2 separate regions of the Homo sapiens genome follow, and region 1 is linked to region 2. Evidence: promoter capture Hi-C in human tissues and cell types (Jung and others, 2019). All regions are on one chromosome and are shown on one strand. Each heading gives the region's core, a stretch centred on a gene start or on the middle of the fragment in contact. The rest is flanking DNA. Distances are from core to core; before and after follow the strand shown. Region 1 holds the start of KRTCAP2 (keratinocyte associated protein 2). Region 2 has its middle 29 kb from the start of MSTO1.

Region 1 (7,227 bases), core at 3,962-6,461, 460 kb before region 2:
GGTTACGGAAGGGCAAGTGTTCTAGCCAAAGATGGGAGTGGAGTGGGGTGGCCTCTAATCCCTGACCAAAACTCCTCTACTCACTTCTTCATCTTCACTGAGTCTTATTCCCTAACTCAGGCACCTATGGACAGGATTTTGTTTGTCAGGGCAGGTTATTTCATTCAACTAACCCACCTTTTTTTTTTTTGAGACAGAGTTTCACTGTCGTTCAGGTTGGAGTGCAGTGGCGCAATCTCCACCCACTGCAACCTCCACCTCCTGGGTTCAAGCGATTATCGTGCCTCAGCCTCCCAAGTAGCTGGGACTACAGGCACACACCACCACACCTGGCTAATTTTTGCATTTTTCATAGAGATGGGGTTCCCCATGTTGGCCAGGCTAGTCTCAAACTCCTGACCTCAAGTGATCCACCCACCTCAGCCTCCCAAAGTGCTGGGATTACTGGCTTGAGCCACCATGGCTGGCCCAACCCACCAGTCTTTATTGTCCATTATCAGGCTCTGGAAAAAACAAAGCTGACCAAGATGAGGTGTATACCCTAAAACACACGCCATTCAGCACGAGGGACGGCACCTAGGACGGGCACTCTGCATAGAGTTGTTCCTCATGACAGAGCACAGACAGGGCAGGGTGCAAGTAGCCACCTGCATTTCCATCAAGGTGGGCTCAGAGGTTGGTGTCCTTGCTCCTATTGTTTTATATACTTCGCTACAATTTAGGAAGTTCCCATTGTCTTGGCTACAAGATGGGGAAAAAATGAAAGCACCAGAACAAACAGGCTAGGAGCAGTTGATCACCTGGGGAGTCTTTCTAAACACAGCCATATGTTCATGCTGAAGTAGAACAGATAGGTCCCAGGGACAGCATCAGGAGAGAAGTCCCACCTATGCACTTGCAGCAGGGGGCTGATTTGCTTAAGGCAGGGAGCTGGAGTGGCAAAGATACCACGTGGAACCCCGTGAAACAGTGTAGGTATACGGGACCTTTCCTTCCTTTACTCTTTTGCTCCAAGATCCCTTCTGGTACTGACGGACAGGACTTCCTGCATTGCAGCCTTTACCCCTTTCCCCAAAGAACACGACTGCAGAACATTCATGTACTTTTCTTCCATGATGAGACTCACACAAGTATATGCCACTCCAGTGGCACTGACAGTATTCAACAGATAACTGGTAAAAATTAATGTGGGAGGAAGGAAAGCCTCACTATTCCCAAGGTCTGAAAACAGAAGGTGCCCAAATGTCTTAACATTCTGTACATCTAAGCTGGATACTGGTAGATGACACCCACAACATATCACAACTCACAGAGCTACAAAGAATCAACTTTATTGAACATTCAGGGTCAGTTTCTCTTCTTGCTCTTGCCTGTGACCTTGGCTGGTGTGAGGACTGGAGCTGCTGCCTGGTACAGGGTGGAGGAGATCTTGTTGATGTAGTACAGACCAACCATGGAGAAGATGAAGCTATATGGTGAAGACAGAAAGGTCATGGCACCAGTGGGCATCTGCCAGCCTGGTGCCTCCTAGGGAAGACACTAGCATCAAGGAAAGAATCCAAGTTCAAGTTTAGGAAAACGGGGAGGGAGAACAGAGAGAGAGGTAGGTGTGGAAGGAAAAACTCTGGCACCATCACAGTAAGATCCAATGCCAAAAAACGGAATGCTACACCCCTTACCCAGCTGTCAAGAACATACCAGGTGGTGACACAGACTCGGTGGATGAGGCCAGATGCAAAGAGAGCCAACAGGAGGCACAGGAGAACTAGGGAGGCAAGAAGAACAAGGAGGGCAACGGTCAGAATGGAAATACTAGGCATCTGCACATGGAGTCCAGGAGAAATCCGGGGCTCTCTGAATCCTGGGGAACCTGCTTAGAAGGGTAAGCGTGACTACAGCAGGAGGATTCTGATTACCTTAATGATACCCAGAACATGGAGGTAGGAGGTTGAGTGTGGTGGCTTGCACCTGGAATCCCAGCACTTCGGGAGGCTGAGGTGGGCAGATCACTTGAGCCCAGGAGTTTGAGACCAGCCTGAACAACAAAGTGAGACCCATCTCTTAAAAAAAAAAAAAATTGAATTAAAAAAAATTTAGCCAGGTAGTACAGTGGTACACATGCCTGTAGTCCCAGCTATTCAGGAGGCTGAAGTTGGAGGAACCCTTGAGCCAGGAAGTTCAAAGTTGCAGTGAACTGTGATCGCACCACTGCACTCCAGCCTGGGCAACAGAGTGAGACCCCGTCTCCAAAAAAAAAAAAAAAAAAAAAGAACATGGATGTAGATGTATGCTTTTTTTTACCAGCTCTGCCCCATATCTCACATAACTTCCCTACCCTGGCTTTCCTCCCATAAAAGGAAAAAGGAAAGGTGATGGACAACAGAGTCTGAAGGGCAAGGTGTGTTCCCATTTGGGGAACCCAGTTAAACCCTTTCCAAAAGAAGCCAGACAATGAGAGTCAATTCATTAAGCTGGGTGACCAGTGGTGGAAGTTGAAGGCCTTGCTCCCTGGACACAGGTTGGAGGGCAGAGTGCTTGGATCTACTTCTTCATGGGGGCAGGAAAGGATTTTAGGTTACCTGGAATATGATGGGAGAGAAGGTGAGAGGACAAAAGCAAAGACAAACAGGGCCCCACCTGCCCAGGTGGAGAGGGCAGAGAAGGCAAAGTGGGCCAAGAACTTTGCCCCACCACAATGGCATCTTTTCTTTTTTTATTATTTTTTTTTATTTTTGAGGCAGAATCTCACTCTGTCGCCCAGGCTGGAGTGCAGTGGTGCAGTTTCAGCTCACTGCAGCCTTGATCTCCTGGGCTCAAGCGATCATCCCACCTCAGCTTCCCGAGTACCTGGGACTATAGGTGCGTACCACCATGCCCGGCTAATTTTTGTATTTTTTTGGAGAGACAGGGTCTCTCTATGTTGCCCAAGCTGGTCTTGAATTCCTGGGCCCAAGCTATCTGCCAGCCTACACCTCCCAAAGTGCTAGGATTACAGGCGTGTGCCATCCCACCCAGCCAATGGTTTCTTTCAGAAGCAACTGAAAAGCCAGGCACAGTGGCTCACCCCTGTAATCCCAGCACTCTGGGAGGCCAAGACGGGTGGATCACTTAAGGTCAGGAGTTCAAGACCAGCCTAACCAACATGGTGAAATCCTATCTCTACCAAAAATACAAAAATTAGCCAGTTATGGTGGCGCACGCATGTAATCCCAGCTACTCGGGAGGCTGAGGCAGGAGAATCGCTTGAACCTGGGAGGCAGAGGCTCCAGTGAGCTGGGTTCACACCACTGTACTCCAGCATGGGTGACAGAGCGAGACTCCATCTCAAAAAAAAAAAAAAAAAGAAGCAAGTGAAGGTAATACATATGGAAACAAAACCTAACAGAGAGAAGTCCCGGGGCTACTGGATGGAAAGAACTCTGAAGCCTGCAAAAGGGCTATGCGGAGAAAGCAAGTCCTAGAGGGGGGCAAAGAAATGAGGGCAGCCAGGCACAGTGGCTCACACCTGTAATTCCAGCACTCTGGGAGGCTGAAATAGGAGGATCACTTGAGCCCAGGAGTTCGAGACCAGCCTGGGCAATGTGGTGAAACCCCATCTCTACAAAAACTTAAAACAGTAGCTGGGTGTGGTGGCACTCACTGGTAGTCCCAGCTACTGGTAAGACTGAGGAGGGAAGATTGCTTGAGACCAGGTCAAGGCTTCAGTGATCACATCCCTGCACTCCAGCCTAGGCGACAGAGTAAAGCCTTGTCTCAAAAAAAAAAAAAAAAAAAAAAGAGAAAAGATTAAGGGCAACCATGATAGATCTTTGTTTTACCACATGAGGGTTTTACATGAGATTGCATCTGCTGTGAATTTCTGAGCACGTGGCATTCCTTAAGTAATCTGGCCTTGACACTTAATTTGCTTTATAAACTTAATTCTCCATAAATAACTGAATCATCAATTCTTGATTACATGAGCAATTGAACAAGAATTATTCCAAACAGGAAATAATCTAACAGTTATTCTGATTTGGTCAGGATTCCTGCTGCCATAGATATTTGGTGCCTCTAGTATTTAGGCTCTTCACAATTCCCTCAAATAAGTAGAATTCTCTAATATTGAGTTAACTTCACATCAGAACTCCATAGTGAACTTGGTCCTGCTGCTTCTTCTGGTGGGAACAAGGACCGCCTCCCAGCGAATAGATGCAAAACATCAGCCCAAATTTGCCTGTTCCCCTCAAACCTTCCCTGGGAGCTGGCCAGAAGGTACCAAAGTTTCTTGCTTTCAAAGGCCTTCTCTTCCAGCTCCAACTCCAGGAGCTATACAAGGTGCAGAATCGAAAAGCGTCATCTGTCTTCAGACAGCTTCAGTAAATATATTTCTCCTTAACAACCTTTCACCTAAGCATCTGGAAATTCAATATCATGTTTCAGGAGGTTAAAGAGGAGAAAGTTCAAATACTCAAGCTCCAATATTCACTTACTCTCAGGGAAGATCTTTGCTTGGAATCCTTTGCCAAAGACAAGATTCTCCAGATTATTGAAGGCCTGGTTGAGGGAGTTAAGGAGTAGGGTGTGCAACGGGGACAGAGCTGTGTGGGGAAGGGGAAGGGCACATGCCTACGTGGCCCGCCCCCTCCAACTGCAGGGAGGATACAGTGAGCGAGAACACGAAGAGACCCGAACCAAGCAGGCCGCCCTGGATGGTGAGCCACTCGGTGGAGGCCAGCTGACGGCTGTACATCTGCATCCCAGCAAAGAGCAGCAGGGACAGGAGGGAGGAGAGCGCCAGCGAGGTGCCCGTACCCACCACTGGAGGGGATGGGAGAAGGGACGGAGAGTCAGGCTCCGCCCTCCCTCCGGCAAGCTACGGGCAGATCAGCCGGTCCGGAAGCTCGGTGGGCCGACCCCCTCCAAGAACTCCCGGGACTGCAGCCACACGCCCCAACTCCCCACACCGCGCGGCAACCCCTACGTATTCCCCAGCCCCGGACACCCCGAACCCTCCCGTCCGGTGGAAATGCCCGCTCCCGGTGGAACCCAGGACACGTCAGCTCTGTCGGGAGAGGACGAGGAAAGCTTGTCCACCCAAACCCCGACCCCCTCTAGGACTTCCTGGGGACCCCACCGGTCCTGTTACCCATCATGCCCCGCCCGTGAGTCCAACCGGCGCCTCTGGCCAAGAAAGGCGAGCTGAACCGGGTGCGGTTAGCTATGCGCATGCGTCAGCGCTTACCGCGGACTTGCTACTCCTCGCGTTCTCCTCTTTCTTCCTCTCAGTGCCTGGACGCAGCGCCCTCTTGCGACAGGGAGGAAATAATGCGTCGAGGGGGCATCCTCGGCCACCGCCCTGGTCCTCAGGCTTTCCTCGTACCTGGTGCGTCTGCTGCCACTCTGTACAAGGTGCACTTATCTCTTTAAGTCATTGGGCCCATGCCTGTGGCATCTATCCCATCTCTGTCTTCTTTGCCATTTCTTTCATCTCTAGTGCACGTTCCTCAAACCTCCCTGCCCCATGCCTCAACATCTCCCAACCTAAAATTTAGTGCTCCCAACCAGGAACTCATTTTCCTCCGAAACTAATCCCCCGCTTTATATGAGTAAAATTAGGAGCCAATGAAAAATGAGAATGTAAGAAATGGCTCCCCCGTCAAATACCTTTCCATATTCCCCAACCCCCCGACCGGCTTTCGAGAACCACGTGGGGAGAACTATTTCCCACCCCCTACCCCGACGGGCGCTGTTCGAGGCTGGTCCCGGGAGCATGCGCAGTGACACCTCAACCCCCAGCCCTCCTCACACCCCCACTGGGCTCCTGCATTAAGCCCGGGGTTCGCAGCCGCAGCCGGGATCGGGCACCCAGGGGCGGGCGGGCACGGTAGGGCCATGGCAGAGGGTGAGGATATGCAGACCTTCACTTCCATCATGGACGCACTGGTCCGCATCAGTGTGAGTTAAGGTGGGGTCGAGGGAAGGGGAGGGGGCGTATAGGGTTCTGGGGCAAGCTGGGACCTGGAACAGGTGGGGATCCAGGAAGATGCTGGGATGTAGACAGGGGGCTAGCGATGGCAGAAACGGCTGGGAGGGTCGGGATGCAGGTATGAGAGGGTAATCCCGGGAGCAGCCCGGAGGTGAGTGCCGTGAAGGCGTCGGTGTGCTGGAGCGTGAGGAGGAGCTAGGAGCAGCCCAGACGCAGCGGGTGGGCTGGGGTGGCCTCCAGCAGTGCACCGGGGCTGGGGCTTCAGGGGAAAGGCCCTGTTATGAGAAGAGGGACGTGTGAGCTTGGATATTTTCCAAGAAAACTGAGGACAGGTGGGGGATGATGTAGGAGCCGCCCCACAGTGCAGTTCCCAATTTGGACCCCTCCCCAAGACCCCACCCCACGCACCCCCACTCAGGGCTGCTTCCGAGCCTGCGGTTGTCATGGCAACCCGTGCCTGGCTCTCCCAGGGGCGGTGCCAACCGTGTTCCCCCCCACCACTTCCTCCCCCCCTCCTTGTTCCTCCCTCCTTTGTGTCAGCTGCGCCCCTGACCGGGATGGCTGCGAAGAGAGGGACCAAGGTGAGGTGTGGGGGTGGGGCATAGCCTGAGGACCCCCACTCTCGCCACCAAGAGGGGGAGGGGACTTCCGGTGGGGAGGGGGCGAGTAGGCGGGGCTCTTGATTCCCCCGCTAGTTCGGAGAAGGGGGTGCCGCTGACCGGGTTGCGCTGCGGGAGAGGGCGGGAGGGCCTGATGGGGGCGAAGGGGAATGGGTTGGTAAGACCGATGGGGAAGTGAAGGATGGGGAATGGAGGCTGGAGTGGCCGCAGGCCGGAGCTGCGGCAGGAGGACGTATGGAGCGAGCAGGATGGAGTGCCAACCTCGCCTGGCTATCGGGAGGAATCACGGCATGGGGGTGCTGCTAGAGAAGGGAGTGGGGGTCTGCATGGAGCTGCAGAATGGGCGGTGTCCTTGAGAAAAATGCCAGGGGCAAGCTGCCCAGAGATGGGGGATGGAGGCAGGTGAGGGGGCTGCCAGCTGGGGCTACTGCAGCTGGAGAAATGGGGATTGGGCTTGAGGCTGGAGCAGGCACAAGCTCCAACCGTCCCTCCTCTGGGCCTTTAGCTCTGCAGCGGGGAAAGAGAAGCAAGGGACAGAGGTCTGGGAAGGTCTGTGAACCAGCCCAAGGCAGGTGCTCTGGAAAAGCTGCAGGTAGCTTGTCTTGCTCCTTCCTCAGACCCCTAGGGTATCCAAGGGCA
Region 2 (7,647 bases), core at 1,064-3,563:
GACACAGTAACAATCTGATCTCTCTTGCTTTTCCCCACACATCCCCTATGGTTCTAGTGTCCTTTACTTTCCAGGGTGCTCAATCACCCATGGAACCCTGCTTAATGAATTTAATTGTGCTTACCGACATAGCAGTTTTGCCTGAATTTGTTTCCTGTCCTTTTTTAGCCACAAAGAAAGAGGTCCTGGGCTGCTGGATTTTAGTGGCTCCTTAACAGCATGCCCACAATTGCCTTTGCATCTGCAAGTGGGTCTTAGGTTTGGGGTGTATTTTGAGTTTAGAGACCAGGCACCAGTTAGCATATTTCTGGGCTTGGAGCTGTCCCAGCAAGATAAATTCCTTGAAAATGGCACTATAGCACAACAGTTTTAGGGAAGGCAGCGGCAAATTGGAGGACCAAAGTTGGAACTGTGCTTTTCATACCTGAATCTTCTGTCCCCTATTTGCCCTCCTAAGAATATTCATTGACCTTTGGACTTGAATCAGGGGACCTATTGTCTATTATATTGTTTTTGGCCCATAAGTATGACCACTTCAAGTGGAGAAGTTCTACAGTTCTAATCGCTGATTCCAGACAGGAAAGGTGGTAATTAAAGGAGTCTCTACAATCTGGAGTAAGTTTAGGGCAACAAAAGGAAAAATGTCTTAGGCCTTCTATCAGCCACTGACATGCCTTTTGATGTTCCAGATAGTACCTAGGGTACAGGTTATGAGGGACAGGTCCCGTGTAAGTATACTGATACCCATTTGCATAAGAATAAGCCTGGGGACACCATGGGCAAAGGTCTTTGGATTACCTCCCCACTTGACTTAGGCTCCTAGCCAAAAGATTCTTAGACTTGATCTAGGAAAGATCCTAGAGGATAGGACCTCAAGAAAGTCTTCTCTGAGGACGTTAGGACCCAGGAGGCATGGGTCAGAAAAGACATGAAATGCACGCATGGGCAGCTGCAGTGTAGAGGCTTCTCGCTGTGCCATGATCTCAACTGGGTCAGTGCTGGGAGTTCAGGACGACAGTTTTCCGCCTCTAGCCAGCCCTCAGCTTTTCCCAGGAAAGGTAGAGAAAGGTGGACCTGGTTCCAGGCAAACCAACACTCCCAGCCCAGAGGGCCGGGGGTTGTTAGAGAGCCCTTTCCCAGAGAGCCTCACACCTGTGTCTTAAGCCTGGCGGCTGCGCTTGTCACTTTTTTTTTTTTTTTTGAGATGGAGTCTTGCTCTGTTGCCCAGGCTGGAGTGCAGTGGTGCAATCTCAGCTCACTGCAAGCTCTGCCTCCTGGGTTCCCGCCAATCTCCTGCCTCAGCTTCCCGAGTACCTGGGACTACAGGTGCCCACCACCATGCCTGGCTAATATTTTTTGTATTTTTAGTAGAGGTGGGGTTTCACTGTGTTAGCCAGGATGATCTCAATCTCCTGACCTCGTGATCCACCCGCCTTGGCCTCCCAAAGTGCTGCAGTTACAGGTGTGAGCCACTGCACCCGGCCGCTTGTCACATTTAAATGGCTGACAGGTGCCTGGTGTTTTCTTCCAATTTCTAATGAGAAGATAGAACAGAATAGCAAGCAAGAGGGGTTCAATGTTACTCACTGCTTTGGAGAAATCCTGAATGTGTCCCCAGAAATGAGACGAGAAGTCTTCTCCTGATCAAAGGTCTTTTCTTGATTGAAGGGTTCGTGGTTTCACAGGCTTCAAGGAAAGAAGCCATGGACCTCAGTGGTGAGTGTTACAGCTCCATTAGAGAAACATGCAGACCCAAAGAGTGTGCGGTGGCAAGATTTATTAAAGCAAAAGTGAAAGTAAAGTGAAAGCGAAAGTAAAGCTTCCATATGGTGGAAGGGAACCCAGAAGGGTTGCCCAATCCTTTTTTTTTTTGAGATGGAGTCTCGCTGTGTCGCCCAGGCTGGAGTGCAGTGGCGCAATCTCGGCTCACTGCAAGCTGCGCCTCCTGGGTTCACGCCATTCTCCAGCCTCAGCCTCCCGAGTAGCTGGGATTACAGGCGCCTGCCACCACGCCCGGCTAATTTTTTGTATTTTTAGTAGAGATGGGGTCTCACTGTGTTAACCAGGATGGTCTCGATCTCCTGACCTCGTGATCCACCCGCCTTGGCCTTCCAAAGTGCTGGGATTACAGGCATGAGCCACTGCACCCGGCCAAGGGTTGCCCAATTCTATTCAATCTTAATCAGTTTGACCATGAGGTGAGATTTTTATGAACCTTTCATAACCGTTTACAAATCTTGCTAAAGAGGAGTAGCATCTTAAGAAAACCTTGTTGTGCTTTTCTTTTTTTCTTTTTTTTTTTTTTTTGAGATGGAGTTTCACTCTTGCTGCCCAGGCTGGAGTGCAATGGCGTGATCTAGGCTGACCACAACCTCTGCCTCCAGGGTTAAAGCGATTCTCCTGCCTCAGCCTCCCAAGTAGCTGGGATTACAGGCATGTGCAATGACGCCCAGCTAATTTTTTGTATTTTTAGTAGAGATGGGGTTTCTCCATGTTGGTCAGGCTGCTCTTGAACTCCCAACCTCAGGTGATCCACCCTCCTTGACCTCCCAAAGTGCTGGGATTACAGGCGTGAGCCACCATGCCTGGCCATGTGCTTTTATTTCAGTGCTCCATTTTCAGAAAAACCCTTTTGAATTTAGTCAATATGTTCACAGTTTCCTTTTGGAAGATTAATTTTTACAGTCTTTCCACATTTGCTTAAACTTTTTGTTTTATTTTATCTAATTTAAGACAATCCTGTATCCCTAGGCAAAATGTGCATTTCCATGCCTTCTTATAATCTTTGACTAAAAAGATACTTTACTGTTCTTGCACACCTTGCATGTAAATCTATTTTCAGTAGTCTAAATTACATGTTATAACAGTAACTCTTAGCAATTTTCAACTTCAATGTAAAACCTGGTAAAGTTGTTTTAATTATGTGCTAGGTGCAGATAAAGTCTGACTCCTTCCAGCATAGTTAGGGGAATGGTTACTTCCATATGTCCCCAGGTCTTACCAATTGTGAAGCAGGCAAGTTTAAAGGCCAAAGAAGAAGTTTACAACCTTAAAACATTCAGCAAACCTAGTATCTGACCTGCATAATTTAGACCATATATTTACATCTTGAAGACATCTACACTTTACCAATAATTTTTAAGGCTGTTTTTATTTTTCAAAAATTAAAGTCACATGAACTGAAAGGTACCACAACCTTCATTATCCCTTTAAAAAATATTTAATCCAAGCACTTACCCTTCAAGTCAATTAATTAGAGGTCTTTTTTAACAGACATCACACACATAACCCATATAGGACTATATAGATAGAAGAAGATCCAGCAGCTCAGGATGGAGCTATTTAGGAATAGGGCCAGAAAAGCATGTAGTTTTTGGAGCCTAATAAACATGCACAGTTGGAAGACAAAAACAGATTTTAAAAGGGATTCCAGGGATTCCATGTGGAAAACAGATTTTTTTCCTAAATGGGATTTCTGGCATCTTGTCTGTTTTCCCAAGGAGTCCCAGGCCACCAGAAGTCATCCTAGGGCCTTTCATCCATGCACCAAGAATGGCAAGACAGAGTGGGAAAAAGTAATTCAGTTGCCAGAGAAAAAAAGCCTTTTCCAGAAAAACAAGATTTATGGAGGGAAAAACATAAAGGCCTCTTGAATATACCTATAGGTTGGATACTCAGTTTCAATTAAGCCAAGTGCTCTTCATGAAAATTGTTTTTCATTAATCAAAACTTTACAGAGAATATAAACAGTGATCCTTATCATTTCTTTTACTGGTTTGTACCACTACCTGTTCACAATCATGTTCAGGTTCCCCAATTTCCTCTGGGAGAAAGTGGCTGGGTTTAGGCAAGGGCAGGTTTTCAACTGGACTGCAGATTCCTCTAGCAGCAAAGCTTGATTTTTGATGAGGCGATTTTTCTGTTAGCCAGAGACTTCCCTTAGAGGACAGCAGTCCTGCTATACTGTGTGGGGTGCAAACAGTTAAGTTATTCCCCATGTTTAACCCAGTGGTTTCTGCCACCAGCAAAGCCACTGCTGCAACTGCTTGGAGGCAGGCTGGCCATCCTTTAGCCACGAGGCGAAGTTCCTTGCTTAGGTAACCTACTGGCTGTTGAGTTGGACCTTTAGCCTTAGTTAAAACTCCCAGGGCCAGCCAGGCATGGTGGCTCACTCCTGTAATCCCAGCACTTTGGAAGGCCAAAGCGGGTGGATCACAAGGTCAGGAGATCGAGACCATCCTGGCTAACACAGTGAAACCCCGTCTCTACTAAAAATACAAAAAATTAGCTGGGCATGGTGGCGGGTGCCTGTTGTCCTGGCTACTCGGGAGGCTGAGGCAGGAGAATGGCGTGAACCCAGGAGGTGGAGCTTGCATTGAGCCGAGATCGTGCCACTGCACTCCAGCCTGGACGACAGAGCGAGACTATGTCTCAAAAAAAAAAAAAAAAAAAAAAAAAAGACACACACACAAAAAAACAAAAACAAAAAAACTCCCAGGGCCATTCCCTTCCTTTGTGATACATAGAAACTAAATGCCCTCCCTATGGGAAGACTGAGGGATGGATGGTGTATTAAATAAAGCTTGCTTTAACTGGTTAAAGGCTTTTGAGTTTTAGGTTCCCAAGTTAGGGAGTGAGTTTTAGCTGCTTGAGTTTCTTTTGTGAGGTGGTATAAAGGGCAAGCTATTTCACCATACCCAGGCACTCACAGTCTGCAAAATCCAGTAATGCCTAAGAATACCCTTAACTGTTAAAGGAAATGGGCTTAATCCTTTCCTTACCTGGTGCTCTGTTCCCTTCTGATAAGACCAGACCCAGATACTTTACTGAAGTTTGACAAAGCTGAGCTTTAGATTTTGAGACCCTATATTCCCTTTCAGCTATGAAATTGAAGAGAGCCTTAGTACCTTCCTGAGACCTCCTTGGTTGGGGCACAGAGGAGAGTGTCTTTACATACTACAAAGTTTCAACTTGAGGGTGACAAAAACTAGAATGATCTTTGGACAGGGCCTGTTTCAGCAACTTGCGTCTGCTATCAGGTGCTGCCTGAGTAATGAACCTGTTCTTTATTGAATTGAGAGACAGGGAGGTGTGTTTCACTAAAGCTTTTTTCAGCCTTTCCAAAAAGGCTGAGAGATTTTCATTTGGTTTCTGATTCAACAAGGACAGTTTACAGTAATTAAGAGTTTTGGTTCTGATTCTTTGCAAGCCTTTTAATATGCACATCAGAAAGTGTTTTCTTTTCCACTTGTCTATGGGATCACCAGGACTCCAATTAGAGGTTTTTTTCTTTTTCGGAGTTTTGCTCTTGTTACCCAGGCTGGAGTGCAATGGCCCAATCTCGGCTCACCGCAACCTCCATCTTCTGGGTTCAAGTGATTCTCCTGCCTCAGCCTCCCGAGTAGCTGGGATTACAGGCATGCGCCACCATGCCCAGCTAATTTTGTATTTTTAGTAGAGACGGGGTCTCTCCATGTTGGTCAGGCTGGTCTCAAACTCTCAACTTCAGGCGATCCACCCGCCTCGGCCTCCCAAAGTGCTGAAATTACAGGTGTGAGCCACCACGCCCAGCCCCAATTAGGGTTTTTAAGGGGCATAGTTTCTCTTCCTGTTGGGAAAGGGGATTCTGTCTCTTTTTTACCATGTTTCCCCTTTTGACTGGGTTTTTCTTTTGACTGGTTATAGGAGACATGCTGTTCATCTCTGAATATCCCTGCTGTCTGTAGGGCTTCTTGTTTCTCTGCAACAGTTAGGGTTTGGCATAAAAGTAGCATAGCATCTCCCCATGTAAGATCAAACACTTGGATTAGATTTTAGAAAGCCTCTATATATCTATGAAGGTCATCAGAGAACTTGCCTAGCTATCCCTTTATTTGTCTAAGGTCCTGCAATGAGAAGGGAACTTGAAACCTAGTAGCACCATGTCCATTCAGCATTTCCTGCAAAGGCAACAGCGAAGTTGGCAGCTTTTTGGGTAGCATAGCTGGAGGGGCTGATGATATGGCTATTGGGGGCCCTGGATACAGGAGGCAGTTAGGGCACTGAGAAGTTGCATTAGAGGGTTCCTCAAGGGTTTGCCTCTCTGACTTTGGGGAATTATATTCTGTAGACTTGCCTGATATGACTGCCAAGAGGGAAGGGTTAATTTTACAACACTTACAAAGATGGGGGTTGTCTCACTGGGAAAAATAAGATCTAGTTGTTGGATAGTATTGAAATTAATGCTTCCCTGAGGAGGTTAGACCTCCTGTCTGTAAGAGGGCCTTGCCCTTGTGCAATAGAATATAAGCTGTTTTTTCTTCAGAGTCTCACAATCAAAGGAGTTCCAGTGTTTCAGAATGCACTTGAGGAGAGTGCAGACTTCAGATGGTTTGTTATCGGGGGAACCCACCGCCAATATTTCAACGTAGGTTCTTTCTATTTTCCATAAGTGTCAGCCAGCTGAGAAATAAAGAGAAAGAGTACAAACAGAGGAATTTTACAGCTGGGCCTCTGGGGGTGACATAACATTTCTGTAGGACAGCGATGTCCACCTGAGCGCAAAAACCAGCAGGTTTTTATTAAGGACTTCAAAAGGGGAGGGGGTGTACAAACAGGGAGTAGATCACAAAGATCACATGCTTCAAAGGGCAAAAAGGAAAAAGGAGAACAAAGATCACATGCTTCTGAGGCCAATAAAGATCACAAGGCAAAGGGCAAAATCAAAAACTCCTGATAAGGGTCTATGTTCAGCTGTGCACGTATTGTCTTGATAAACATCTTTAACTACAGAAAAAAGGGTTCGAAAGCAGAGGACCAGTCTGACCTCAAATTTATCAGGGAGTGGTTTTTTCCCCATCCTAATAAGCCTGAAGGTACTGCAGGAGACCAGGGTGTATTTCAGTCATTATCTCAACCGCGTAAGACAGACACTCCCAAAGCAGCCGTTTATAGACCTCCCCCCAGGAATGCATTCCTTCCCCAGGATATTAATTATTAACATTCCTTGCTGGGAAAAGAATTTAGCAATATCTTCCCTACTTGCACTTCCGTTTATAGGCTCTCTGCAAGAAGAAAAATATGGCTCTATTCTGCCCGACCCTGCAGGCAGTCAGACCTTATGGTTGTCTTCCCTTGTTCCCTAAAATCGCTGTTATTCTGTTCTTTTTCAAGGTGCACTGATTTCATATTGTTCAAACACACGTTTTAAAATCAATTTGTACAGTTAACGCAATCATCACAGTGGTCCTGAGGTGACGTACATCCTCAGCTTACGAAGATAACAGGATTAAGAGATTAAAATAAAGACAGGCATAAGAAATTATGAAAGTTTTATTAGGGAAGTGATAAATGCCCATGAAATCTTCACAATTTATGTTCCTCTGCCACCACTCCAGACAGTCCCTCTGTTGGGGTCCCTGACTTCCTGCAACAGTTTGTTACCCATCTAGAAAGAGAAGGGATATAAGGCACCCCTCACTCCCTTTCCTGCTTTTGGTGTGACCAAGGGTCGAGGGAAAGAGAGGCATGGGGTCCTCCTTCTCCTCCTTCCTCCACATCCTCTAGGTCTCGGCTATCGTCATAGATGCTACCCATGAATGCAAGCATGACCTTCATCCACACACCCAGAGGAGCTAGTCAGCATAACTATTCATGCTCACCTGCAGA

Evidence for each region. The method cuts DNA at HindIII sites, captures the fragments that hold promoters and counts their contacts. A contact is called where the count stands out against the background at its distance.
Region 1: the fragment with the promoter of KRTCAP2 here is called in contact with a fragment that was not itself captured in region 2 in 1 of the 25 tissues and cell types used here (lymphoblastoid cells).

The regions. Positions count from the first base shown.
Region 1 is chr1:155,168,093-155,175,319 of GRCh38, forward strand. It overlaps KRTCAP2 (keratinocyte associated protein 2), which reads right to left and starts at 5,212. Exons shown (of 5, transcript NM_173852.4): 1 at 5,129-5,212; 2 at 4,646-4,800; 3 at 4,473-4,536; 4 at 1,699-1,765; 5 at 1,316-1,468. The coding sequence starts at 5,132. The coding sequence ends at 1,348. It overlaps TRIM46 (tripartite motif containing 46), which reads left to right and starts at 5,757. Exons shown (of 10, transcript NM_025058.5): 1 at 5,757-5,937. The coding sequence starts at 5,875. RefSeq lists enhancers at 4,592-4,871, 4,975-5,483, 5,062-5,161, 5,362-5,411, 5,484-5,992 and silencers at 5,742-5,831, 6,001-6,295. The HindIII fragment of the contact is 7,811 bases long and covers 1,730-7,227 here.
Region 2 is chr1:155,635,807-155,643,453 of GRCh38, forward strand. It overlaps the pseudogene LOC100419798. Among named protein-coding and RNA genes, the nearest start is that of MSTO1, 29 kb to the left of the region's middle. RefSeq lists enhancers at 1-113, 114-874, 875-1,634. The HindIII fragment of the contact is 3,850 bases long and covers 389-4,238 here.